4 separate regions of the Homo sapiens genome follow, and all the other regions are linked to region 2. Evidence: promoter capture Hi-C in 16 types of primary human blood cells and fetal thymus (Javierre and others, 2016). All regions are on one chromosome and are shown on one strand. The core of a region is centred on a gene start or on the middle of the fragment in contact, and the rest is flanking DNA. Distances in the headings are between cores, read along the strand shown. Region 1 overlaps MYO5A (myosin VA). Region 2 holds the start of ATOSA (atos homolog A). Region 3 overlaps MYO5A (myosin VA). Region 4 overlaps MYO5A (myosin VA).

Region 1 (6,644 bases), core at 3,855-6,354, 270 kb after region 2:
AACAGTAAAACCAAGATTACCAAGATCACAAAATTTATTTTTTCCTTTAGTGGCTTCTTGCTGATTAAAGTGAATATAGTATTAGGGAGTCTCTTGTGAATACAGTGCTTATATGGCAGAGGCAACAATTGAGGGAGTGGACAAAAGATACTGTTTATGTATAGAAATTTCTTTCCCTATCAGTTTCAGAACTTAGAATCAAATAATTTTATTTTTTAAAAAGAACCCTAGAGCTCCACTATCCTAGTCAATTTACATTTGAGGATACTAATGCTCCTCAAAGAGATTAAATAATGACAAGTTGATAATAGGGCCTGGTCTGATAGGTCTTCGGGCTTCTAATTCATTTGTTCTTTTTACCATTGTTTGTCTATGTTTAAATACATTTTATTTGAAAACAAAAGGATCTGCTTCAATTCTAGCCAATCCCTGCCTCTTCTCACAGTGTGGTGGTGTTTCGGCAGGTGGGCCACTCTGACGCCCAGTCTGAGTAGGTGGGGAGAGATGATATGTGGAAGGTGGGGTAAGAGTTGAGGAAGGAGGAGAAGCTGTGGCCCACCCTTCCTCCACTTGCTTAGTTACTGGCAGGAAAGTGCTTAGGACAGTTACTAATATTTATTGAGTGTTTATTGAGTAGCTGCTGCTACTTCTACTACATGTAATCTTTCATTTGCTCTTCGGAAGAATATATTGTGTTGAGAGAAAAGTCTGCATTTATAATTAATCTGCTTTTCTAAATAAAATAGTGAGACCATATACAGACTTTTTGCTGTGGTGTTTTGTAATATCAAGAGGGGTAACATCTGAGTAAATGAATAGATAAATTATCTGAGGCTACATTAGATCCTTCTGTAATTTTGCCAGGAAGATATTCTTATTTTTCTAGAAAAGCATTTAAAATGTTAATCTAAAATATAGCAGTGTCCTCACTGCCAAAACAAAATAGGATGTCTACACTCTATTTCAGAAAGTGAAAATATATTTTCTTTGATTGATCAAAGAATCTAATGTGTTGACTTGTATGGCTGTGTTACTATTGTTTTCATTACTTACATTTGTATCACTCTTAAAACTACATTGTATTTTCACATCTTTCTGTCTGCTGTGGTTTCAATTTACTAATCCTGACATAGGCTTTACACAAGTGAAAGATATTAATTTTTTTGAAATTTGCTTATTAAACATTTAATATATGCATTATGTAAACACTTGGTTTTCTAACTACATCTTTTTTTTTTTTGCTTTGCCTTAAAAAAATTTATAGAAGCGAGTTACCTAAATCAGAAAGACATATGTCATTAAAATTTTTAAGGTTATATAAAACATTTAGCAGCAAGTTATATTCTCTGTATTCTGTAGCAGATATTTTGTAAGCTAGATTTAACTATCAAAATCCAAAGCCAAATTTTACTTTTTCTGGTTCTGAAAATGGCCTTTAAATTGAGTGGGTAATACTAATACTCTACTAATAAATAGTCTAACTGGACCTTTGTTGCCACAGGATAAGGTGATAGAAACATCAGGCTAAAGAGACCCTGAACACCAGAGCAGCATTTCCAGGAAATATTCATTGGTCTTAACCATCTTATTTATGTAAAGCAGGTGAAGTTTTTTGGAAAAAAATAAAAACCTGAAGCTTACCTAACAAAGCCTATGCCTTGGCAGCTCCCATCCTCGTTTGTTCTCTTTCTTTGCTGGCATGAATGTTCAGATAACCCAAAAGGTTTTATGAAAATATTCTAACCTCTGAGTTCAGGTCTGCTGTTTCTGAAAATCATTTTTGTGAGAATAACAAGACAAATAAAAACAATTAGTATATATCTGTGTGACTGTGCAGTGAGCAAAGCATACACCTGTGCCTGCAGTGGCAAAAGTGGTTCTGTTCTTAAAAGAATCAGTTTTGGCCAGGTGTGGTGGCTCACGCCTGTAATCCCAGCACTTTGGGAGGCAGAGGTGGGTGGATCACAAGGTCAGGAGCTCGAGACTAGCCTGGCCAACATGGTGAAACCCCGTCTCTGCTAAAAATACAAAAATTAGCTGGGCGTGGTGGCATGTGCCTGTAATCCCAGAGGCTGAGGCAGGAGAATCACTTGAACCTGGGAGGCGGAGGTTGCAGGGAGCCGAGATTGTGCCACTGCACTCCAGCCTAGTGACAGAGCAAGACTCTGTCTCAAAAAAAAAAAAAAAAATCAATTTTAAGGACCTGTGTTCTACTCCATCTTTTCTCTCTCTGAGCAGATTCTGTAAATGTCATGTTATGAATTACACTTCTAAAATCTTATTTTCTCCCTTGCTTTTTAGTCCATTGGAAATGCTAAAACAACCAGGAATGATAATAGCAGCCGTTTTGGGAAGTATATTGAGATTGGTTTTGATAAGAGATATCGAATCATTGGTGCCAATATGAGAACTTATCTTTTAGAGAAATCCAGAGTGGTATTCCAGGTAAGCTGGCCATATACACATATGCACTTGTGTTAGATTGCTGTATAATTGTTGAGTCCATGCTTGCTGGTATGCATTTTATTTCAAGATACTCTTGAGCATATTATGACAATATTACCTCCAACCACACTTGGACTGAAGCCTGTAAAATGGTGCCTGTTAGAGGCAAGGGAGTACCACTTAAATGCTAATAGTTTTTGGGACTGGTCACTTTTAGGTTTGACTTTTTCCTACAGGTGCTTGCGGGAAAGCTTAGTTGAGAACAGGTGCTATTGGTTTAGTCTTGTCTCTCATATTTCCAAATGATAGGGAAGGCATTGTTCCATGCTCTCAATAAGTTAGTTTGAACTCAGTGCAAGAAAAAAAATTATCTTGTCCTCTTTCCTTCCTTCTTCTCCTCTTTCAGAATATATTATTGTTTAGATAGAATAGTGAGGGTTAAAAAAAAATCTTCACAACCCAATTGTGAACTACTATCAAAAAAACAGTTGATGCATCTGGGTAGGGTTTACATCCACATATATGCTCTTGGTCCCTTTTGATTGGTAAGTGGGAGATATGGGAGATACTATATATTTCCATCACTAGCAGGCATACATTTATATATTTATAGGTATGGGTTTATCACACACTGTCAGTTCTGTAGACCTACTGCTTGCCTCATGCTGTGAGATTTGGGTTTCATTAGCCTCAACTGCATGCCCACTGCATTGAGGTTCAAATACCCTTGACACTGCCATGTAACAGTGTCCACAATTTCCATAGCCCAGGTCTGTCATAGGTTTGAAAGTGTCTGAGAATTTGAGCAGTCTGAAGTTGCTCTGGCTTTGACTTTGGGGCTGTGCCTGATTTGTGGCCACCTAAAATATAGTACTTGATTTGCATAGTAAGGCAATACAAATGAAGTATTATATTTAATATCTAGGTACATACAGAACAGTGTTACTATGCTGATGGCTATTTCTATAGGTTTTTTTTGAAAAGTGTCTACTTTGATAACCAGAAGAAAGAATGGGTGAAACAGAGGTAGATCTAAGGGAAGATTCAAATATTAGAGTTCAAATAGTAGAGGTTTGATTGATAGGTAAGTGAGTAAGCAGGGGGGAAAGATGGTCCTTGGTCAGTACGTGACCAAAGGCTAGTAGTGCTTAATACAAAATGGTAAAGCCCAATCCTTATTGTCTTGTTTAGAGACACTGAACCATTTCTAGCAGTTTCCCAGTCTCCAGTGATATAGAATGTCAAGGATGTTTGGCTTGTCAAAATGAGTCACACAATCAGAAAAGGCATACTTGTATTGTCCTTTATGTACAAAGAGGACCTAAGCATTTCTGCAGACTCACAGGCTTTTCTAGTTTCTGTGTGCTGAACCACCTGGTCTCCTGTTTAATCATGCTTGTGGTCATTGGTATACTGGTAATTTGTTCAGTGGCTTCTGTCCCTATAATAGGTTTTCTTTTCCAGACATCAGCCCCCTGTGGGCATCAAACCTGACCTTGGCCTTATTAATACGATTCATTAGCCAACTGAGTATACTGTAAAAATGAAGGATATAGTGATAAACTATTAGGTGTATGAACAATATTATTGCAACTGTATTTTTTAGATATATGTGTGGAAAAGACTCTCAGGAAATACTGAAAAATTATCTTAGAATTTATATGTGATTTATTTTCTATTTTATAAAACAGTTATTGATTTAAAATGTATAAACTAAAATGATATAGAAGATGTACATTTGTGACTTTCCTACAAATAACCACAGTAGATGGTCCAGTCTACAATATGGCAAGAATGGGATTATTCTTTTTTCAAAGCATTTGGAAGACTGTGAATCTAAGAGGTACCATTAGAAAATAGTATTGAGTATTGCAAAAAAAAAATGATTTTAGTTTCCCCCAAAAGCACTGATTATCTTATGATTGTTGACATATATCAAGCTGTTCACTAGTTCAGAAAGCATTACTATCCGATACTTTATGTTGAATTTGAGCAACACACACATACTCATACATATGCATATAGACTATAAATCATAAGATTTAATAATCAGAAATAAGTATTAGGAAATATAGGAAAGTATAATTTATTTAACCAACTGAGATAATTAAATATTAAAATCTTATTTTATGATAGAATTCCCTGAATTTTAGATTAAAATGCTGTAATTGAAAACTCTTCTTATTTCGAAGGCAGAAGAGGAGAGAAACTATCATATCTTCTATCAGCTTTGTGCCTCAGCAAAGTTACCTGAATTTAAAATGCTACGATTAGGTATGAATATGGCATTAAATTTATTGTTCTGGTATTGTTTTCTGTTAATTTCCAAGTTCCTAAATTTACTTGTTAAAAAGGAGCTTATCTCATGTTGGAATACTTATGGATAATATGATAAAAAGTCAGCCCTTGGCTTCAAAATAACCCATAGGGGTAGAGGAGGAGTAAGTGGCTGTATAAATGGAACAGGATTGGCCTGGAGGTGATTTTAGATGGCTGTTTAAGATGAGTAATGAGTACCTAGGGGCTCATTCTATTAGTCTCTCTACTTTTGTATGTGTTTGATATTTGCTTTGATTAAAGGAAAAAAAAAATTAAAGGAGTTGATTTGTTAGAAGCCAGTAGGGTTTCTTATGAGGGGAGTAAAGGATTTGAGGAAATTATTCTAGTGTGTAGATTGGAATAAAACCTTTAGGAAAGGACTATTTATTTTACCAATTAACATAAATAAACTATAAATATTTTACCCCATTTATTTAATTAAATTTTATTTAATTTTTAATTTTTTATTAAAATACAATTGAAAACACAGGCAGTCAAACTCTAGATGCTGTACACTCAACTGTGCTATCACCACCTCTGATTCAGAGTGGACATAAGGTTAGAAGGCAAGGCTTTTTCATAAACCAGAAAATTTTTATTTTTCTTCATTACAGGAAATGCAGATAACTTTAATTACACAAAACAAGGAGGCAGTCCTGTGATTGAAGGAGTGGATGATGCAAAGGAGATGGCACATACTAGGCAGGCCTGCACTTTGCTAGGTAATGTCACTTTATTCTTGAGCTCTTAAGAGGAATAGCTTTTTTACTCAAGCAACCTTTGTTTAGAATATTGGCTTGACTTTTTATTAAGTGGCAAGTATTGCTAGAAGATTTAATATTCCACATAGAACACATTTAGACAGCAAATGGGCAGGAGATTTCTTTTTGGGATGATGGAACTGTTCTAGAATTAGATTGTGGTAATGGTTGTGCAACTTTGTAAATTTACTAAAAATCATTGAATGGGTGAATTTTATGGTATGCAAATTAGCCTTCAATAAAACTGTTCAAAATATATATTTGGGGCATCAGGGGAGGGCTACTTGTAATTCTTTGCTTAAATTTTTACAAAATCTGAAACCTGAAGCTAAGTGAAACGGGCTCCTCTACAAGCTCGCATTTTGTAGGAGCTATTGGTTTATTTGTTTGGTTTTGGGGATCTTTCTGTGGCTGGGAAATGTGGCTGAGTTGGCATCATGACAGAATATTCCATTACATGTAGTTTATTCCAGCATTTTTTTTCTGTTCCAACATTTCTGAAGCAGCTCAGATGTCACTATCTTGTTTCTGGGATTTAAAAAATGTTGGGCCTTCATGTGAATAAATTAATCTTTAGAACTTGTCATCTACAACTTAAAGAAAAAAAAAACCTCAGAATATAGATAACTCTAAAATCATATGATGGCATTTTGAGTAGTACCCTCAGGTGAGTTAACTTAATTTAAAAGCACTGCTAATTACAGTGTGGACCAGGACCATTGTGGGCCTTGCTAGAAATGCAGAATCTCAAATCCCTTCTCAGACCTACTGAAACATAATCTGCATTTTATCAAAATCTATTGGTGATTCATATGCATATTAAAAGTTTGAAAATCACTGCATTTCTTCTCGTGCTAAATCTGTTTGTAAATAGTAAATTTGTGAATTTGAAAAAGCCATACAAAGTTTGCAGTGAGCTGAGATCACACCACTGCACTCCAGCCTGGGTGACAGAGTGAGACTGTGTGTCAAAAAAACAAAAAAGAAAAAGCCATAATGCAGGAGATGGTAAAAAACATTAATTATAGGGTCATTACTGAATTACCCTTTCTAAGATTACATATTTGGAAATAATTTCACTGCTTCTATTTGCATGTAATTATAGCTAATTTTCTGGAG
Region 2 (7,468 bases), core at 3,835-6,334:
TTGAACTCCTGGGCTCAAGTGATCCTCCTGCTTCAGCCTCCTAAGTAACTAGGACTACAGGTTCATGCCATCGTGCCTGGCTAACTTTTTAACTTTTTTATAGAGACAGTGGTCTCCCTATGTTGCCCGGGATGGTCTCGAATTCCTGACCTCAAGCAAGCCTCCCACCTGGGCCTCCTAAAGTGCCAGAATTAGAGCCATGAGCTACCATGCCCAGCTGAAAATTTATATTTAAATTGATTAAAATTAACAATTCAGTTTCTCAGTTTCACTAGTCACATTTCAAGCACTCAATAACCACAGATGACTATAGCTACTGTATTGGCCAGAGCAGTTCTAGAGAATAGTGACAGCCTTGGATCTTCAATAATCACTTGAATCTTTGTGCCTAGGATAGTGCTATTCAATAAGGAAAGACAAAAGAATTGGAAGTCAGTCCATCTGCCCTTAAAAGATAAAAGGAATATGTGGTTTTAAGATCATAAATATGTGTTCAGAAAAAAGACAGAGATGGTGTGTATGAGTGTATGGGTTCTAAAAGACATTTTGAGGTGAAACTTTGGGCTTTCAAAGTCCAGAAGGGTTTCCATAGTAGTTGGGGAGGGATCTCATGTAGGGCAGAAGCCCAGTGTCAGGAAGATACAGGGTTTGGGTGGAAAATGAAACTAAGAGACCAGTAACAGATAGTGGGTAAGAACGTATGCTCTCAAGTCATGCTCACTAGGTGTGAATCCTGACTCTGCTACTGCCTAACTGCTTAAACTTGGGCAAATTATTTAACTTCCCCTTTTCTGTGTATTTGGTAGGGATAATACTATTTCATAGGGATGTTGTATTAAATGGACTAATAAATATATAAATCATTCAGAATAGTGCTTATGACTTAAGTGCTGAAGAAATTTCAGCTGCTATTATCTGAGCATGACCATTTGCTCTTTGGGGTGTGCATATAACACATCAACCAGAGCTGTTTGATTTAGAGCTTATATCTTAAAGCACTAAGCCTAAGTGTATATCAACCAATTTAAATTCTAAATGCAGAACCACTTCTCAACATTTCTGAGCCATAGTTTCCCCACTTGAAAATTTTGAAATTATTTAACTTATTTCAGAATATTGTAGTGGAAATTAAATGAGTCCATTCAGGAAGCGGCTGCCTTCTACTTATTAAATATAGCTTTGGGAAAGTTACTTGTTTCTCTGAGCCTCAATTTCCTAATCTGAGAAATAGTTATCACCCTCTTTGGATCAAATATATATGTAAAATGCTGAGCACAGTTACTGTCACAAAAAACGGCCATTATTATTCTTTAAAAAGACATTAAGTCTTGGTGGGTCGGAGACCTCCAGCAGCTCAGCAAAATTGTCAGGTTAATTAAAGGTTTATCCACCTTGAAGTTTAGAGGCCCTTGTATTTCTAAGCCCTAAGACACTTACGCAGACTGGGACCAGAAAGAATACATTTTTACTTCCTTATACCTGTGGTTTTAGAGGGTAGACAAACAGGAACCTCAAAAAAGAATAAACCAGACAACCAACTTATGTGAAGGTAGAAGGTTGTTTACAGAAGCCAATGCCTTAGCAATGACTCCATGATCTTTCTCTCTTAGAAATTAACTGTACTGAATTTAAGTGGATAATCAGAAACAATTTAGATATGGAAAAGATAGCTTGCATTTCATCTTGTTTCAACAAGTACTAAAAGTACATTTTTCTTTTTAACTTTGCAAGAACAGATTTATTTATACATTTTAATTCTACTCATCTTTATTTCTACAATATTTCATGGCAAATAAGATGTACTGATTACCATCTTTAAAATAATGTATCTTCATTTGACTCTCAACCACTTATTCATGATTATCCTCTAGCTATGGGTCATAGAGTTGTTCTTTTAAGATACTAGAGATATCTTAACATTTTTCACTCATTTACTGTTAACTTCTACAGAATTAAAGATCTTCATGTTTGAGTAACCATTCAGAACCTCCATTCTTTTTCTTAGTCACATGGCCATCTTCCCTGTGTGTCTTCTACCTTCAAACCTCTCCTTCTTATCAGGACATTAGTCACTGGATTTGGAATCTACCCTAATAATCCACCTCATCTTAACTTCATTACTGTACATATCTAAGTTCACATTCACAGATGGGGGATGGGAGTAGGACTGCAACACAATTTTTTTTTTTTTGAGGGGAGAACACATTTCAACCCACAATGGGTTCCTACTATTATGAGACAACATATAATATATACATTGCCCCAAAAGTATAATGAAAATGTGTCATTTACAAATGAAATTTGTGCTACCCACCAATTTCTCAACTCTACCTTTATCCCACTAGGGAGAAAATGCCAGCCAGTATTAGACATGCAGACTACAGGCATGCACAAGAAAAGCATATTAGAGAATACATAGGTTAATATTTATTGAGCTCCTACTTTATATCCAGTTCTTTACTAAGTGCTAGGGATACAAGAAAGAAGAAGGTACCAATCCCTGCTCTGGTGGAGCTCATCCTGGTAGCCTGGACTGGTTCCATGACTTTGGTCATCGTAACAGCCTTGTATTCATAAAGTGAGCAAACCAGTTATCCTCATCACCTTAATAAGTAAAAGAACTTAGAGACAGTCATTACAGATTGATCATACACCACCCATTTCAACAAAATCTGTAAAAGTTGAGGGGATGAAGATGAGTTGCTGAAGATGAGTTAACTTTTTTTTGAAGTTAATTACTCATATACGGCTTTGAAACCCTAGGGGAAAGCAAAATGGAAAGCAAATCAGATGAAAAGAGGGTAAGGTTCCTGCCAGCTATCTTGATTCCCTTGCTTACCCTTACCCTTCACCAACTAGGAACTAGAAACATTTGTTCTGTTTATGTGCTCTGAGGTGTGAACAGAGCACCTTAGAGTGAATTGCCATTTCAAGTCATTATTTCCAAACGCTCTGAACATGTGTTACATAATCATAGGATAAAAGAAAGCGATAACTATTGTCAGAGTCTAAACACCTCACTTTTATAGGTGAAACAAAGGTGTTAGAATGTGACTTGATTAGGGCCATGTAACTGTAATAGTACTATAAGCTCCTTGAAAGTAGTGACCCTATCTGGTTTTGGTGACCTTTACATTCTCAGAGACTTGTATGAGCCTAGCAGGTAGTATTCAGTAAATGCATATTATGGAATGAAACAATTTGAATAATGAGTCAGAAATACACCTTTTAAATACTTTTTCTGCTGCCATAATGATTTCAAATTTTTGAACAGGTTTAAGATTCTAAATTTAAAAAAACTTCAGGTTAGTCTAACAAATGTTGACATCATCATTTACCCAAGTGCTGTTAAAAATTATTTAAAAGAGAATAGTTTGTGCTACACACTAATAGTCTTGGCTTCTGCTCTCAACATTTCCTGGTCTTTTTACCTCTTTTGCATTAGATAGAGGAAGAAAGAAGCTAAACCAGATTTTGCTGCCTGTTCACCCAGTAAGCCTTTTACAATAGCTGTTATTTGGTCCCAGCTGTTGTGCTAAATTTAGGTTTTTGGCTTATCTGTAACTGTTCTGTCTCCCATTACCAAGTGCTTGTAGAACAAGTAAAACTTCAGTTCATTTTTTAAAAACTACATAATACAGTATTCAATAATATCAAAGTCAAATCCACTGGGATTTAACATTTGTAGCATTTTATAGATTAAAGAACTGTTTCCATTTGTCAGTTTCATCGTCATGATGCCAGAACATTTCAGAGAAAATGAAATGTTACCCTCCTGAATGTTCTCTCCGCTCTGATTAGATACAATCGTGGAGTTAAGGTTAACAATTTCAGTTGTACATGTTATTTTACTGTACATATCTAAGCACTAGAAAATGTTACTTTTTAAATATTTCATGCCTTTTTCATAAGAACTTTACCTGAGGCCAAAAAAATGGAACTGCCAATCTTGCAGTTTATAAAACTCTTCTGATGTGAAAATAATAGACTCATTGTAAAAAAAATTTTAAAACAGAAGGGCACAAATAAAAAAAATCCCCTTAGACTTGTCCTAATACTTTCCTGTGATCCTTTTATGCAAAATTATATCTAAAAAAAAAACTTTTTCTAATGAAACCAAAGAGCCTTGCAAATTTTTACTTGTCTCCATTTGGGCTCATGCCCCATATGTACTTTGTCTATAGACTGAGTAGCTAATAGCTGCAGCGCTTGTTAGGATTGGGTTTTTTTTTAAGTACAGCAGATTCCTGTCATCTGTTTGTGTTTAAATGACGACAACATCACAACATGAAATGCCATCATGTCACATTGCTATAGCACAACAACAAAATTACAGCTCCCCAACAATAACATGCTGTCAAAGTGTCCTCCTGCCCATGAGTCAGTGTTTTAGAAGTTATGAAGATTATTTTTAGCACAGCGAGTGTCTTGGAAGCTTGGGTTCTGAATCCTACTAAAATCCTTAGTGATTTGGGAAAATCTAGGGTGGGGGTGGGCTTCCTGTTCTTAAATTCTCCCACTCCCTGACCCGCATAGCTGCCCACCCCCCGTCCCGGTCACATTAAACCCGGGTTCCATTATGCGCTGCAATCCACTTGGGGCTCGATCACAACTCTGTGCCAGCATCCCGGGAGGAGGAGGAGGAGGAGGAGGAGGGGGGGAAGGAGGGGGAGGGGGGAGGAGGAGGAGGAGGAGGAGGAGGAGGAGGAGGAGGAGACGACGACTATAATTATCCTCCACGTCTGGGGCAGGCCTTTGGATGACATCTCCCCAGTTACCCTGCGCTCTAATAGCGCAGCTCCGATTCCTGGTCTCAGAATCCAGGCGCGCCTCTGCCGGCTGGGAGCGCAACCGAAGTGCCTGGGACGTCTCGGGCTTCCGGGACTCTGCTGGTGTCTCCCAGCCGCCATCTCCAGCGCCCTCGCACCCGCCGGGCACCTGCACCGAAAACCCGGCCCCAAACTAGCGCCCCGGGGCGAGCGGCGGCATTGCCATAGTAACCGGGCGCCAGGGCCGCGGAGGCCGCCGGGGAGGAAGTGACGACCGGGGTGGGTTGGCTGTTGTTGGGACACGTGACCTAGGCAGTGTTTTGACAGGGCAAACAGCAGAGAAAGAACTGGCCGAGCGAGGGGGACGGGGAGCCGGGGCGCCAGAGCTAGAGACAGCGGGCGGGCAAGGAGCTGGCAGAGGCGCTGGGCAAGAGGGCCGGCCGGGGCTACGGGCGGGGGAAGCCCGGGGGTCGCGGGGCTCGGGTGCCAGTCAGGCAGGGCGGAGGGGCTGAGCGCAGGGAGCGGAGCGAGGCGGTGGCTGAGGCGCGGGTGGATGGCCACAGGGGCGCCGGGGAGCCGCTTCGGGCTGGTCGTCTCGGGTCCCCACGGTCACCTGAGGCAGCCGCGGGGGCCGCTGCGCTCCATACTCCGCTCCCGCTGGCCCTGCGCCTCTCGGAGCCTGGGGTCTGAGGTGGGAGTGTGATGTGAGCTGCTGGGCGAGCGGTGGAGAGAAGTGCCAAGAGGAGGCGGGATTGGGACGGGAGAGGAGAGCGAGTTAGTCAGCAGAGGTCGGCCGAGGGAGCGGAGGAGCCGGCCAGCTCGAGAGCGCCATGAAAACAACTCTCCAGCGGGGAGAGGGGCAGACGCGGCGCTCGGTGCGGCGGGGCTGAAGGAAATCCGGGGCCGCGGCGGGACGGAAGGGGTTGTGCAGAGCAGGGGGCGAGCACAGGCTGTAAACACCTCCCCCGGAGCCGGCCGCGGAGGACTGGTTGGGAGTTGGTAGGGTCGCCCCGGGACAGCCCGGAAGAGTTCGTTTGGGGCTGGGGGCTGGGCGGGAGGAGGTGACTCGGGTTTCTGTGTAAACTTGGCCGCGGTTGCCGCAGGAAGGCTAGCCAGAGGGTAATTACACAGGTGAGGCCCGGCGGGGCGGGCGGAGGGCTCGGGAGGCGCAGGGGACTGGAAGAGTTGGCTGCGCCCAGGCACCAGGTGGAAGAATTTCCATACCAGCCCTGCGGAGGTGCCTCTGTTTCCAGAGGCGTTTTTGTACGAAGGGGTTAGTTTGTGTTGCTCAAATCTTTTTCTTCTTCTTGCCTGTACCTCCAGGTTATAAATAGATCCTGTTTTGGTTCAGAGACTGTGTCAGAAGGACACATTGGCCTGGAGAGCACAGAGGCAGGGAAGGGGGTGCTCGATCCGGAGGAGATGGGGGAGGCGGTGCAGAGAGTTTTGCTTTTTTCAGACCAGCCGAGGGTGCTGTCACCGCAGTTGGTGCCAGGAAGAGGCCTAACTTAACAGTAGTTTACTTGCAAGGTCCGGGTATTAGAATAGGGCCAGATTAATTTTATTTTTGTCTCTTTCAGCATTTTGAAAGCGAAGCAGAAGCCGTAGAATCAGCGGCGAGCCTGTTGAAAGAACCCACAGGTGCATTTCACAGCACTCTGGGCGAAAATTGGATGTGAAAATGAAGCCAGACCGAGGTAAATGATTTGTTTAAGTAGGGCTTGTTCCCCCACCCCCTTCTTTTCTATGCCTCAATTTAGAAGTGTTAACCTAATTCTGCAGTAGGATCAACTATTTCTGTATCATATGTGATTATCTGTTTTTGTGACAGATTCCAGCTGGTGAGGTAGAGAAAGGCATATGGAAGAGAAGGTTAAGCGTTTTTACAAAAGTGCTTCTGAAGCACTAGCTTCAAGAGAGATTCTAGTGTATCTCAAAATGAAAGTAAAGAATGGTATTTGTATCTGTTGCCACAATACAGGTATCATTTTAGAGTTGTACTTGCTCGTTTTTAGGTAGTCAATCTAACTTCAACTTTCAAGAAGTTCATAAGCTTTTTAAACTTGAATGTGAACTTGATAAAATGAAGAGAAAACTTAAGCTTGAGTTGACAACTGTTATTTTATTACTACTTTGATTAGTTGATTTTTGTGCTTTAAGCAAACTCCAAAAGTTTGCAGAGTACTCCAGTATTCAATATACCAGCATATGGACAGTTTGGGCCACTGAAATCCCTGGTGATAAGTAAATGTCACTTCTTTTCTAAACCTGTATTTTCAGGATTTATAAGAATAATATATACACTGCTTTTCAAGGACTTCAAGGTAATTCTTTATCAGTCTTCTGATTAATGGCAAGAACCAATTTTAGAAGATGTTAATATAGTAGTGGTTAGTAGTGAGAGCTTTTCAGTCAGATATGAGTTTGATTCCAAGGAACATTGTGAAGTGGGGATTATTTTATTTGGTAGGGGGCTGGACTAGATGACAGATTTCCTTCCAAATCCAAGTCTTTAGGATTGGAAATGTTAATTTATCCTACGAATTAGATGCTTATTTTAAAATTTATATATATTAAACTGGTTGTTTTTCCATATATTTTTTCAAAGTGATTAGACAAATTTTCTGGGTAAAATAGGTCTATTGAAATGCACCAGAAGGAATTGGAGAAAACCATACTTAATTTAGTGATTTAAATTA
Region 3 (7,123 bases), core at 3,586-6,085, 340 kb after region 2:
TCAGGAACTTCCTGAATGCTGGTGGCCCAAATCTGATCCCATTCCCCAAGTGCCACTTTTTAGCTAAGGTAGTCAGAATGAGGGAAGAACTGGTGACTTACCACCCAGGAGAGAAGCATACTAAGAAGCCTTTCTTCTCTTGGATTAGTTAATTTGATCAAGTTACCTCATTTGCTAAAAGTTCACAACCATACCATGTAAGTCCTGAGATACCAGAGCACACAGATAGCATTATTTGATGTAAACACTTGGGTCTTTGAAAGTTATTACTTATGGGTTTTAAAAATCTGAGTATGGCCCTTTATAAAACAGAAAGATTTTATTCCTTTCAGAGAAAGAGAAAAAAGAACCTCTTTGTAAAACAGGTACTAAAATATTTACAAAACATAGCTAAAAAAAATACTCTGTGGTTTTAATGGGAAAGATTTTTAAAATTCAATAAAATGTAAACTATTTATTAGTATATTTCATGAGATTATAGTTGGTCTTCTCAGAGGAAGCATTTATAAACTTACAAAAGGATAGCATTAAGAGAAAAGTGGTATTTTTTTTAAGGATTTTTAAAATACACATTGAAATTCAGAAACAAGCATTTGTAAGTCTCTGATTGGCATTAAAGTTATCTTGGAACTTGTCTTTAAGATCATGGTATTTGAAGTGTATTTTATTAAGTCTGTTTCATTGCAAGGCCTGAGCTTAGATCATGTTTACTAAAGAATCAGACATATACTATTTAGACAAATATGTGGTCCAAAAGCTTTTGAGTTGAATTTTATGTGGAAATGTTTCCATTTAGACAAAGCCACTGGGTTCTGAAGTATATTGTTTTTTAGAGGCTACACAGCAGGGTTTCTTTTTTTGCTTTAAGTTTTGGGATACATGTACTGAATATACAGGTTTGTTACATAGTTCCATGTGTGGAACTATGTTCCATTGTGGTTTGCCAGCAGTGATTCTTATCTCTTACTCTTGTCTAGAAAGATAGAGTAGCTGAATAGGAGAAGATTTTGAAATTACATTGCTTGTCAGACAGATTTGACTAAACGGAGAAAATTAAAAAGAAAATTAAAATGTTGGAAAAAAGTTATTCTTATATAAAATAATTAATAATTCTGACCTGCCAGATGTTTATTTCAAAAGCTTAAGTACTATGTTATGTTATACTAGAGGAAAAGAGAACTGAATGTGAGAAAAAAAACTTAATTTTGCTGAAGCATATAATCTGAATACTACCTTCTTTTTCTGAGTTTTTAATGAAAAAGTGAACTTTATGTCAGACTTTCAGTGTTTTGGGGCATCTGCTCATTGTAACTAGTCATGAAGTAGTAGAAAGAATGGCTTTGTACATTCCATTAAATAGGTGCCTGGTTATTTTTCTAATGCTGTATATACTATATTATATACTTTATAAAATATATATATATTTTTTTTCACATAATGTAAAACACATATATGGCCCATCAGTGATTTTATTTACAGGGCCGTGACATTGTAGAATCTTCCCACCTTTGTAGCAGAGTGCTAGTGTTTCTCAGGAGAAAAACTGAAGGTACCTCTTCTCAACTACCTGGGCCAAACTCCCCTCTGCAGTTACATGAGGTTGGGGCTGATGCTTTGGTGGGTCACAGGTATGGTGGAGCACATAACCACTGCCCCCCAGTTATACCAAATAAATGTGTTTTATGTCCAAAGCTTTTGAGTTGAATCTTAATGCGTAAATGTGTTATTTCCCTCTCAGAATACAATGACAGATTCCACAATACTTTTGGAAGATGTACAAAAAATGAAAGATAAAGGTGAAATAGCACAAGCATACATTGGTTTGAAAGAAACAAATAGGTAAGTTGATCCTTCTTTTATTCATTTTGGTTTAATTATATTGATCTTTAGCCTTCAAGCCAGCCTCTTGTACAGTAAAAGTGTTCATACATTCCTTTATATTAGACATTAACTGGCCTTCAAAGGGAATCCAAGGTTTCCAGTGTATTTCTAGTTAAGATCTTCATTATAATATAAGGTAATAGTATTGACAAAAGGTGTCAGGGAAAATGTGCTTTAAATCAAAGCAAGATTTTAAAAATATTTAATGTCTTAGCTTTAAGGGGCTGCCTTGAGAAGAAAACTACCTGCTCAGGTCATACAATCTTAGGTAGTCACTTTCATTTGTTATTCAGGATGGTTATTTGTGAAGGTTTGTAGGGGCAACTGCAGTTTTCAATATTTGAAACTTAAGAGTGAAAAGAAGTGATGAGGTATCTGGAATCACTCAGTGTTGGCCATGTAACTCTAAAAGGGCACCATGACTTCTAGGATAGAAGAATGAAGGCTCATATCTGGAATTCCCCTTGGCCTTACTACCACCCTCCTTCCCAGCAAAGTCTATTGGTCTGGGGCTCTTGATGGATAGTTTCAGGATTGGTAAACATACATACTTTATAAACTGAAGAATATTGCCATACAAAAAGAAAGGTGCAGTCAGCCCTCAATATCCATTGGATCCCTATCTGTGGAGTCAACCAATGGAGGATGGAAAATATTTTTTAAATTACATTTGTACTGAACATGTACAGACTTTTTTCTTATTTCTTTTCTTTATCTTTCTTTTTTTTTTTTTTGAAATGGAGTTTCCCTCTTTCGCCTAGGCTGGAGTGAAGTGGAGCAATCTCAGCTCACTGCAACCTCCGCCCCCCAGGTTCAAGCGATTCTCCTGCCTCAGCCTCTCGAGTAGCTGGGATTATAGGTGCCCACCACCACACCCGACTAATTTTTGTATTTTTTTTAGTAGAGATGGGGTTTCACCATGTTGGCCAGGGTCGTCCCGAGCTCCAGGCCTCAGGTGATCCACCCGCTTCGGCCTCCCAACGTGCTAGGATTACAGGCATGAGCCACTGCGCCCGGCCCTATCATTATTTCTTAAACAATACAGTGTAACAGTTATTTACAGAGTATTATAAGTAGTCTAGAGATTACATATTACAAGTTTTTAGGTATTATAAGTAATCTAGAGATGATTTAAAGTGTACGGAGGATGTACATGGTTATATGCAAATAGTATGCAAATTTTATATAAGGGATTCGAACGTCTGTGGATCTTGCTATCCAAGGGAGGACCTGGAACCCAATGGATATTGAAGGATGACTGTGCTTCTTATCTTCTTTTATGGACAAGGGTGGAGAATGCTTATAAAAGTATTTGGTTATACTTAAATTTTAATTTATCAGTTTAAATTATAAACATATGTTATATCTAAGAATGTGTTAATATAGAAAGAACTGTATTGTATCACAATGTTCTTCCATCCACTTAGCTATTCTATCACCAGTGTGCCTACTTCATGCCAGGCCTTGTGCCACATACTGGGAATACAGTAATAAGCAAGATAAATGCGGTTCCTACTCTCACTGAGATTATAGGCTGCTGGGGAGACAGCTGAGAGGGTTTGGACTTTATTCCAAAGATAATGGAATCCTCTGAAAGGTGTTAAGTAGGAGAATGGTGTGATGAGATTTGATTTTTGGAAAGCTAGCCCTGGCTGTTATGTTAGAGAATAGACTGCAGTAGAACAAAATTGGAAGCATAAAGGCCAGAGAGTATTCCTGTAACCCAGTGATTATGGTGACTTGGGCTTGGCTGGTGGCAGTTAGGATTGACAGAAATGGGACGTTTTGAAAGATACATAAGAAGACGAAGTCAGAAAGCTGTTTGGTTTATTGAATGTGTGGGCGAGGGATGGAGAAGCCTGAAGGTGACTCCGTGGTTTCTGCTATCTTGGTTAGGTGTGGTGATACCGTTTTGTGATCGTGGGACTGGAGTGTGGGGAAATGCACAGTGAAGATGATCAGTAGATTTATACATATGGATTTAAGGAGCCAGGAAAACATCCAGAGAAAGAAATCTATTAGGCAGTTGAGTATATAAATCTGTAGACAGGAGAGATGTGTGTACTGAGATAGAAATTTTGAAGTCATCAGAGTATAATAATACAATGGAAACCGTGTAAATAGGTGAATTCTCTAGAGAGATATGAACTCTCTAGATGTAAAGTAGAAGACAATGCCTGGAATTTGGGTTATGTAAACATAACAACAATATAGCAGGAGTAAGAACCTGGACTCCAGAGTCAGTGCTGGGATCCACTACTTACCAGCTGTGTAACCTCTATGGGTATCTTACTTCCAAGCCTCTGCGTCTTCCTCTGCAATGTGGCAAATGACTTGTTGGGTTACTGGGGAAACTGAATTAGTACATGTGGAAAGAATGTAGAACAGCATCTGACACTGAGCAAACACTCAAAAAATATTATTTTTATATTCTAAGTGGAAAATAAATGATTACTAACATTATCATTACTAATTATACGTTTTTAATAAGATGTGATACATCTCTAATATAGCAGTTTTTCCAGGCATACAATTAATTTTTGACACAAAAAAGCTTTTAAAAATCATGTCATAAAAGCTGAGAACCTTGGACATGTTCTGATTTATGTTACTGCTATAAGAATTTTTAAAACTGGTTTTTTAATGTGGGAAATTAGGTTTTATTAAGCTAAAAACGTTCCTACCTAGAGGACTTAAAAATTCATCTTGAAAAATATTATGAAGTTTGCCACACAAAGACAGTAGCTGAAGTTTTTGTTCTATATGTGTCATAACCTCTAATACAATATGTGATGTATTAGATCACTTTGCTAGCTGAATAAAACATCAAAAACAGAACCTCTTTCTCACCTTCCAGTCATTTCTTATTTTGCAGGTAAAGTAGCTCTACATCCTTGATTATTTTGCTTTAATTTCTATCCATTTACATGTGATGCTACATGTTACTCATTTTTAAAAATTAACCAAAAATAATTTTTGTGGTAATGTCTTAAAGTTGTCATAATGAATAAAAACAAACTTATAAAATGTTGAAATACTGCATGCTGCTGTTGACCATCGTCACCTCATCAGCATCCTGTATCCTTTTGTGTTTTGCATTGTTGTTCCTTTTGCATGGAAGATCATCTGCTCTGGATTACCATGAGTTGAATGAGGATGGAGAGCTGTGGCTGGTTTATGAAGGGTTAAAACAAGCCAACAGGTTATATTTGTCTCCTCAAAATGGAATGTTATTAATTTGTTGTTTTTCTTACTAACAGTGACCTCCTGACTTTCACCCCTGTATTTCTTGTGCATTGATTGTCTTCTTGGGTAAATTAGTGTTAGTAATTGTGTTATTTGTTCAAAGCTTTTCAGTAAAACTGAGAACATTCAGCCAAACACCTTTTTTTTTTTTCTTTTTTAGACGGAGTCTCACTCTGTTGCCTAGGCTGGAGTGCAGTGGTGCGATCTCAGCTCACTGCAACCTCTGCCTCCTGGGTTCAAGCAATTGTCCTGCCTCAGCCTCCTGAGTAGCTGGGATTACAGGCGTGCACCAACATGCCTGACTAATTTTCTGTATTTTTAGTAGAGACGGGGTTTCACCATGTTGGCCAGGCTGGTCTCGAACTCCTGACCTCAGGTGATGCGCCCACCTGAGCCTCTCAAAGTATTGGGATTACAGGCGTCAGCCACCACACCCGGTCCAAACACCTTCTTTAAAAACCTTCACTACAAGATACTATTAAAGCTAAAATTGAATGGTGGTGAATATAAGACACTTCCCTTCAGACACTAAAATTTGTGAATCTCTCTCTCCCAGGAGTTAAAAGAAAAACATAATCTTTCAATTAGGGCACAAACTATTGGGGGAGAGATTAAGATTTATTACTGAGACAGTGGCTTCTCATATCCTATAGATAGATCTACAGGATATATGTGTCTATGGCAATGTGGCTACATTTTTCTTTTCTTTTTTTTGACACAGGGTCTTGCTCTGTCACCCAGGCTTGAGTGCAGTAGCATGATCACGGCTTAATTCAGCCTTGACCTCCTGGGCTCAAACGATCCTCCTGCCTCAGCCTCCTGAGTAACTGGGACTGTCACAAGCATGTGCCACCACACTCAGCTAATTTTTTTATTTTTTGTAGAGACAGGGTTTCACTTGGTTGCCCAGGCTGGTGTCAAACTCCTGGGCTCAAACAATCCTGCCTCGGCCTCCCAAAGTGTTGGGATTACAGATTTGAGGTACTGCGCCCAGCCTACCTTCTTATATATTATTATCATGCTGTCTAAAAGCAAGATGAAATGCATGATTTGGCACTCTGTGTGGTTATTATGAAATTCACATTTGTGAAACAGCAAATCAGGAGAGTTTTCTGCATTGCTATAGCTCAGAATAATTACCCAAATTCAACCCGTTAAATATGTTCAGAGGAGAGAAAATAAAATTGAAACAGCAGCACCTTTCTAACACAGACATTCATCTGCTCTAGTGATATTTGTCTTTAAAATCTCATTAAAATTCTATTTTAGTGATTAAATTTTTAAAACACTCAAATGTTTGTTCAAGGGGCTTCTGCTTATTCTGCTTTGTTCTCATCATTAACGCTTGTCATTAACTTTGGGGTGTTATTGCTGCAGATCTTTTTGAAATGTTTTAATCACTAAATATTTTTAGTCCACTGTTAACAGTTTGCTTGCAATGGCATCATTAAGTTTTACCCAGCAGTTGGCAACCAAGGGACTGGAATAAAAGAATGTCTTTTCTTTCTTCACATTAGTTAGTTCTTAACCATAACTTTGCATTTGGAAGAGAGTGACTGTAGAAGCAGGGGTGCGTGGCAAAGGGAGGATGCTCTGACTCTGGTGTTCTCACTGCCAATGCCTGGTCTGCTCTGTGGGCACAGCTGGCTGTATGTTTGCTTGGAAAAGCAATAACCACTTTTTTGGTCCTATTAATATTTGTGTTCTAAAACCACATCTTGTTAGGATTCTGTTTCTGATATGTAAGTTTATGCGGAGAGAGAAGATGACAGATCTAAAATATATATAGGAAATTTCAGAACTATTTGTGTGGATTCGGGTAAATCTGTATATATAAGGCTGGAGTGGTGTTCCAGCCTTTCTGTCTTTCAGAATAGGAGTAGAATATAATTCCCTCTGCCTGGAATTAGTAACTGTAGTTCTGAAGGCACATTTAGTTAATTTGGAAGTTTATAATGTTGGCCTTTATAGTGCAGAGTTGTTTTGTGGCAAAGGT
Region 4 (7,649 bases), core at 3,058-5,557, 320 kb after region 2:
GAACTGTGAGATGGTAAATTAAGAGAGACTCTGTAGAGTAGGACAACCGGGTCCACTGAAAAGTTGCCATTCTCTTGAGAAATATCTCTCTTGAGAAATATCTGTGAGGAGGTCATTTTGAGAGAGTACACTACTTTGGGCAAAATAATTTTATGAATAGAATACCATTGGAATAAAAATATGTACACTTTAGTTACTAGACAGTGACTGACTAGTGGAAGTTTTTCAAGGATGTGCTGTAACCAGTGTATCAATTAGTGGTACTAAGGCCAGAGTACATGGAATAACTCAGTAGATGATTGTTATTATTAATAAATTATTTCATTTTTTGGTCATTTTTTCTTTTCCTAAATTTTACTAAGACACTCTTCATGGATCACAGTGATACTAAAAGTAAAATTGCCTACAGAGAAACTGGAAATCAGTATACATGTTTACACAATTGCATTCTCAAGGGGCCATCTTTAGTATGCATATCCTTTTTTTAATTTCAGAAACTATGGAGAAGAAGTTAGTAGAAGAAACGAAACAACTGGAACTCGACCTTAATGATGAAAGGCTGAGATATCAGAACCTTCTGAATGAGTTCAGTCGCCTGGAAGAAAGATATGATGACCTCAAGGAAGAGATGACCCTTATGGTGGTGAGTCAAACACTTTTGTTTTTTTTTTAATGAAAAATTTTAAACATATACAAAAGTAAATAGAATAGTAGAATGAACCTCCATATCTTCTGTGTACCTACCACCCAGTTCCAGAATGTTCAACACATATTCACCTCCCATTCCATCTCCCCAACCCACTCCATCCAATGGATTGGATTATTTTAAAGCAAATCTTAGAAATCATATAATTTTATTCACAAGTACTTCGGTAAAGTCAAACAGTTTAAAGACTGGGCTATGTGATAGTATAAAGTCAGTAAAGTTGGATTTTTGTTTTTGTTTTTGTTTTTTTTTTTGAGATGGAGTCTCCCTGTGTCACCAGGCTGGAGTGTAGTGGCACAATCTCGGCTCACTGCAACCTCCGCCTCCCAGGTTCAAGTGATTCTCCTGCCTCAGCCTCCCGAGTAGCTGGGACTACAGGTGCCCACCACCATGCCCAGCTAATTTTTTGTATTTTTAGTAGAAATGGGGTTTCACCATGTTGGCCAGGATGGTCTCGATCTCTTGACCTCATGATCTACCCACCTTGGCCTCCCAAAGTGCTGGGATTACAGGCATGAGCCATTGCGCCCGGCCAGTTGGACTTTGTTTTATATATTGAATGGCCTAATGTAAAATTTACATGTAGACTGGTTTTGATTATAATTTTGAAGATATATTCCTATGAAAAGAAAATTCAGACTCCATTTGTAATGAATTATCTATTTCAAGGACTCTTCTGCATTTGCCAATGTACCTTTCATACTTGTAATAATTCTGCACATCCTCCCCATTCCATGTATCCTGCTATCAGGAAACAAAGAGTTCCCAAGCATCCCTACAAGTACCAGCCTTAAAGGTAACCTAATTATACAAATGACCAGAAATGCCCTGAAATATCTCATAAAAAGCCAGATAATTCAGTATCTGTGGAGCAGAGTATTTTCTTCAAATTTTGCTTCTATCTGGACCTACTGACAAAGTTCATTACAATATGACACTTAAAAGTCAAAATAAAAGAGATTGTGTAATACAAAAGATAGGCTCTCATCACCTTGCAGATGAGAAAATCCTGTCTAAAAGAGACCAAAAAGCTAATATAAATCCCACATTGGACCATTATTTCAACCCTCACTACTCTGATTTATGTGTGACAAAGAGAAATTAGAAGTAGATGCAAGTCACCATTATAACTGTTCTTATAATTGACAAATCTAAAGACCCTTGTTAAGCTTCATCTTCCTAGATCACCGTGCTACCGTTGGTCCCATTGAAACCTTTCTTCCTTCACATTCTGTAATTCTTAGCTTTCTCTTGAATCCTTTTCTTCTTTTTCAGTGTTCATGTTCCCCAGTTCCATTCTTTGGTGTGTTTTTGTTCACTCTATTTATTAGATGACAATGCCAACATTTATGGTTAATCTCTGTTTCAGTTATGGTTAGAGCTAAGCTTTATAACCCAGTAGGTGTTTCTGAGACCCCCTAGTTATTTGGGATGTTAATAAGTGGGATTGGAAAAGAAATTCTTAGGTAAAATAAATGTGGTAATCTACTAGGTTAAACAGAGATAAACAAATGTCTTTTCTGGAGAATTTCTTGGATTCTTTAATGGTGCATGCAATATGAATTTCAGAAAATAAAATGAGAGAAGCAGGTGCCATACATGTATCCCTCTCTGAGCATATTCCAGAGATATCCATCTGTGAGGAGGTCATGGGTCTCTTTAGTCGAGGAGGTGGCCATTTCTAGAAAGGTCCTCCAGTGACGCCTCCTCCAGCAGCTTGACACGGCTCCTCCTTCCTGCTAAGCAAGTCTGCCTGCTCTCCATCTGTTCCCAGCAGTGCTCTAGAGGTAGTTTTAGTTGCTCAATTTCTTATTTCTCAGTCATGTGTCCTCTCCATTGTATGCCTGTGACTCAGTCATTCCTCTTGGGAGACAAAATGGTCAGAGGAAGGGAAAAGGAGAAAGCAGAGGAAGGGAGATCAGAGCTCACTTGCTTCCCACTCATTTCTTCACTAGATCTCCTTTTCCTAGCTCCAGATATAATCAAGATGACAGTTTTTGCAGAAAATATTTGCCCAGAATTGCAGAGAATAAAAAACTTGATCTTTTAACCCATGACAATTAAAATATTAGTGACAATATCTTATTTTAATGTTTAGGTACAACTAAACAGCTAACAGATGAGTACTTGACTAATATTAGACTGACGCTGTTCTGTAAATGACACTCTCACTGCTTCAATCCAGAGCTAATGAAGCATTTGGTTGTAAACAGAGTCGTCATATGAATGGAGGAAACTCTAGGGAGGGGACTTGATACACTGCCTCCAGCGCTTCCCATAACCTATGTGATACATGGGCCAAAGAACACTAATAGTGTCACTCATTGCCAGCCTCTAGAGTTGTTGGCCCTAGTACAAGAAGTACTGTAGCATTTTTCTCCAAGAACATTCGGTTGTCCAGGGAATATAGGGGCAGAGGCAAAGAGGAAGGACCAATCCAGGGCTAAGGAGTTTCAAGCCAATGATGAAAAGATCATGAGGCATGGGCATCCAGGTTTATGAAGTGTTTAAAGATAAATTAATTCCAGAGAGGGGAGGGAAACCAGCATGTCAATCATGGGGTCGTTAGTCTTGACAAAGGGATAAAACATGTTCTGGAAAAGAAGGAATCATGGGAGAAATCAGGAGCAGAAGAGGAGGGAGGTGCAGATCTTGAAGGAGAACGTGATGATCCAGTCAAATATATATCCTTGTAATTGAAAAACGTATAAACGGGGGAACAAAATCCTAAAAACAGAGAACTGAAAAGTTACCAACAAGGAAGTTGCTGAATCACTGCAATCTCCTAACAATCACAGCAGCAGAAGTTAACATTCATTGAATGCTTGTTATGCCAAGCCAAACTCTTTACTTCCACACTCTTATTTAATCCTCACACAGACCCTATGAGATAGAAATTAGTACCCTTTTTTTCCTGATGATGAAAATACCAGCTAGTGGAAGAGCTGGTATTCCTGCCTAACTCTCTCTCGTTTCAGATCCAGAGCACTTAATCACTGCCCTGTATCCAAAAGTTACATTAAATAGCAAAAAGCAATGTTGCTTCTATTAATGCCTTAAGGTATTCCTTGTATAATGATAGACATATGTGGGAAGACAGGGATCTCTCTCATTTTTAATAAGCTTATTAAAAATCTTTGTCCTGGTGTTTATCTGGACTACCTGGTTTTCTTAGTGATACAACCAGTTTATTAAATAAATGCCATTCCTACAACTGTGGGCTTGGGCTGGAAACTTTAAGCAAGAGTGCCTGTGTCTGTAAACAGACAGTGAATTTGAGTGCCTTTGACTTCATGTGTGATGATTGTCCCCTTTAGTGTGCACCCCAGCTTCTGGATCGTTTCAGAGGTGCTGGTGTTCTTGGATCTTCCCTTCACATTGCAGTACAGGTTGGGTTGGCCTGGGAGACTTTTACGTGCCTCTGGATGAGTCTGCTCTCCATAAGCCTGGGTGTTGGAAGGGAAGAGACAAAGAAGCTCTTTGTGGCTTCTAGCTCTTTTCCAGCAGCTGGGGAAAGGTACAAAGAAAACTGGACAGATGAGAAAGCTCTCAGAGGCCTTTGTGAAGCCCTCAGGACTGTAACACTGCAAGATTAAGCCACTGGATCTTTTCCACCTCTCCTGCTGGGGACATGCTAAGAGCCCAGCCTTTTAATTCCTTCTTCCCTCAAGTTATTCTCTAACCCCTTCTCCTACAGGAGGGAAGGGTGTGTCGTTGCTAAACTTTTCTATTCCTCTTGAACTTTCTCAACACTAATTTCCTAGGTATTACATGTCATAAAAATGCCACCTGGATGCCCTGAGGTAATAACCGAGGGCTCTTCAGAGGATTACTAGAGCAGCTTTCTTACCTCCCGTGTACTGTCCATCCTGCCCACTGCTCACTCCAAAGATTTAACTTCACGTATTAAAGTGACAGAAGTTAGAGCTGCCTGTGTGAACTCCTTCATCTTTCTTTTAAACCATTTATGCCTAGTTACCATGCAGTAAAATGATTGTGCATGCCATTTCAATATATTTTATGAGGTTTTTGTAAGTTTTATTTGATTATGGCACTAAAAGTCAGTGCTTGGAAGCTTCACCCAGTGCTTCACTGAGCACTGCTTCACCCAGTGTGACTGACCGCTCAAAGCTTTCAACACCCAAAGGGGACTCGACTAATAATCAGAAGTGGTTTTCATTTGGGCATTTGGTTTTGCAACTGTTCTTGTCCTGTCATGCCAGTGTACCTTTTTCTTTGAAGCGGTGACCTTTTTGTAATTATTTGGTCAAAACAATATGGAACAAATCACTTGGGCACCAATACAAGTCAGGAAGTAGGGATAAGAACCAAGTCAAGGTGGATGCTGTCTTAACTATGCCTAGACTAATTATGTTGCATTAATTATACCTGGGTTATTTGCCTTGCAGCATGTGCCTAAGCCTGGACACAAGAGAACAGACTCCACCCACAGCAGCAACGAGTCTGAATATATCTTTAGCTCTGAAATTGCAGAAATGGAAGACATTCCATCAAGGACAGAGGTACAGTTTAGACATCTGTCACTGAAAGTAGGATATGAGCATGCTGTTGTTAACAAGGAACATTTCCATTGCAAAGCAGACTCCAATTGGCCATAAACATAGTATTTGTTTGAATCATTTATTCTTCATAAGTGACTTGTAGATACAAACTTATTTACATTTTTGTATACTTAAGTGCTGTGTACATACATACCTATTGCATTTTTTTGTCAATACAAATTTTAATTTTAATTTTTAATGCAATTTTGATGGTGAGATTTTATTTTTATAATTCTCTTTACCCCTAACATGATATGTTTACAGGAATTTATTTCAGACTGAGGTAAATTATTTTATTTTTACTTATTATTTATTTACTTTATATCTGTGGACCACCGCTGTAGACAGAGGTAAATTATTTTTAAAGTAAGCCCTTTGTCCTTGAATATTATAAACACCAGTGCCCCAGAGTTTAGCAAAACTGATGCCTCTATTTTATGCCAGTTTTTACCAATGTAACTTTCTTCTACAAAATGCATGGAAAATAGTTTAGAAATCTGCTTTAATGTTTTGTGTTTTGTGGTATGAAACCAAAATGATGTATTACTGTAACTCCAAGAGTATAGTGACTTTTAGTTAGATTATTCCCAACCAATTCTAAGATCTTTTAAAATATGATATAGTTTCAATAATGGGTAATTCAGGCACAACTGTCCTATTTTTATATTATATTTTTTGAAAATGGCCAAATCAGAAATAGACTGCTTCTGGTAGAATAGCTAGAGAAATTGAGTGATTCTTTCCTTTCTTGTCTTAGTTCTACTTAAGAATGAAGTTTCTGCCATCTCATTCTGTTAATTTTGAAGAAAAATGTTACATAGTTGGAATGTCATATCATTGGAATCATACATACAAGAAGGCTAAGTAATTTGTCCAGGTTCACAGCTTATAAATGGTAGATCCAGCATACTAACTGAGGCTTGTCTCTTTAGAATTCATGTTCTTAAGCCATTATATTCTACTGACTTCCATCCAGGGATTCTGTACTGCAACTCTCCAATCCCTTTTCTATCTATAGCTAACATTGGCTGGGGCCCATGGATATAACAGTATGGCCAGGATATAGCAGGATAGAGGTTTTTCCAGTTATCTATTGCTATGTAATAAATGATCTCAAGTTTTAGTGTTTTTTTTTTAAAAAACAGTAATTTATTATTACTCATAATTCTGTGGGATTTGACTGGGGAGTTCTTCTGTTCCATGTGGTGGTGGTCGGAGTGCCTCATGTAGCTGCATTCTGTAGAGTGCTTGCTTCTCTTCCCTGGGCCTCTCCATGTAGCCTCTGTTCAGCAGCAGGTAGGTGGGTTCTAAGAGTGACAGACTAAAAGATGCCAGGCCTCTTAGAGCTAGGCCCAGAACTGGCCCAGTGTTAGTTCTGCTGCATTCTGATCAAAGAAAATCACAAGGTCAGCCCAGATTCAAGGCAAAGGGGATAGATTCCATCTCTTGTTGGGAGGAAATACTTGTATGTTGAGAAGAATCATTGGTGCCATCTTTGGAGAATACCACAAAGTTAGACTTTGAAGATTTAAAAATTAGGACTTCTGAGCCTTCAGTAGATAGGAAGGTTTTAGGATTACATCCTGTTGATCTCAGTGGGAGTACTCACTTGCAATAGTCGGAGGGAAGTACATTTACAAGCTGCCCATTCCAGTGTAGTACCACTTTAGCAGCTCTGCTGGTAGGGGGAAGCCATGATAAAAAGGGTGTGCTTGCCGGAAACCAGTCTGTAGCTCTGTGGAGAATTCGCCTGCCAGTCCCACTTGTTTTGCAGCCCTCCCACGCTTGCCGATCTTCATGGGCTGGGATGACATTGCTTTGGAACCAGTGCTCCTCCTGCTTGGTGTGCACCTCTTCTAGGAGCCCTTGACTGATGATCCCTGTTCTGCTTCTGCTGTCAAGCTTTCTCACACCTTTCACCTCTGGGAAGGGTCACCAGAACTTTCTCAGCTATCATTAGGAGTTATTTCAGAATGACTGCCAGGCCTGTAGTGGTGGTAATTTTGTGAATAAATTCAGTTATTTTGATTTTCCTCAGATGAGAGACTAGTGTTATTTTTTAGGTCAGTTAAAAAGCTTCGCTGTCTTAGAAAAGCCCTGGGTGACAAAGTCCTTACTAAGGCAAAAAGCGAAACAAAACCTCAGAAACTTCTCTGTGACAGATGGCCCAATCTTCCTTCTTGCTCATGGGGTATAGTGAGGACAGCTCTTTAATTTGATAGCATCTCTTTAATTAGATGTGTCATCCGGGCTCAGAATGGGTACCATCGGGAGCACTCTTAAATAATTACCACTCTTTATGCCTCGAGTCATTTTGCATTTTTCAAATGTAATCTTTTGTGATCTTCCACCTTCTATTTTAATATTCTTATCCACAGAAT

Evidence for each region. The method cuts DNA at HindIII sites, captures the fragments that hold promoters and counts their contacts. A CHiCAGO score of 5 or more calls a contact.
Region 1: a contact is called between a fragment that was not itself captured here and the fragment with the promoter of ATOSA in region 2, in 2 of 17 cell types (neutrophils and activated CD4 T cells). The highest score is 6.4, in neutrophils.
Region 3: a contact is called between a fragment that was not itself captured here and the fragment with the promoter of ATOSA in region 2, in 8 of 17 cell types (naive CD8 T cells, non-activated CD4 T cells, total CD8 T cells and 5 more). The highest score is 7.0, in naive CD8 T cells.
Region 4: a fragment that was not itself captured here is called in contact with the fragment with the promoter of ATOSA in region 2 in 3 of 17 cell types (M0 macrophages, M1 macrophages and M2 macrophages); the score reaches 7.6 in M0 macrophages.

Annotation. Positions count from the first base shown.
Region 1 is chr15:52,406,134-52,412,777 of GRCh38, reverse strand. It overlaps MYO5A (myosin VA), which reads left to right. Exons shown (of 42, transcript NM_001382347.1): 6 at 2,302-2,445; 7 at 4,638-4,719; 8 at 5,379-5,486. Among named protein-coding and RNA genes, the nearest start is that of MYO5C, 110 kb to the right of the region's middle. The HindIII fragment of the contact is 4,811 bases long and covers 2,699-6,644 here.
Region 2 is chr15:52,677,004-52,684,471 of GRCh38, reverse strand. It overlaps ATOSA (atos homolog A), which reads left to right and starts at 5,084. Exons shown (of 13, transcript NM_001385016.1): 1 at 5,084-5,644; 2 at 6,350-6,466. The coding sequence starts at 6,451. It overlaps LOC105370821 (a long non-coding RNA gene), which reads right to left and starts at 4,867. Exons shown (of 4, transcript XR_932255.4): 1 at 4,779-4,867. RefSeq lists a silencer at 5,149-5,468 and enhancers at 6,049-6,188, 6,319-6,388. The HindIII fragment of the contact is 2,387 bases long and covers 4,438-6,824 here.
Region 3 is chr15:52,341,077-52,348,199 of GRCh38, reverse strand. MYO5A (myosin VA) reads left to right here. Exons shown (of 42, transcript NM_001382347.1): 30 at 1,739-1,839; 31 at 5,003-5,083. Among named protein-coding and RNA genes, the nearest start is that of MYO5C, 49 kb to the right of the region's middle. The HindIII fragment of the contact is 795 bases long and covers 4,438-5,232 here.
Region 4 is chr15:52,357,548-52,365,196 of GRCh38, reverse strand. It overlaps MYO5A (myosin VA), which reads left to right. Exons shown (of 42, transcript NM_001382347.1): 24 at 495-643; 25 at 5,116-5,229. Among named protein-coding and RNA genes, the nearest start is that of MYO5C, 66 kb to the right of the region's middle. The HindIII fragment of the contact is 952 bases long and covers 3,832-4,783 here.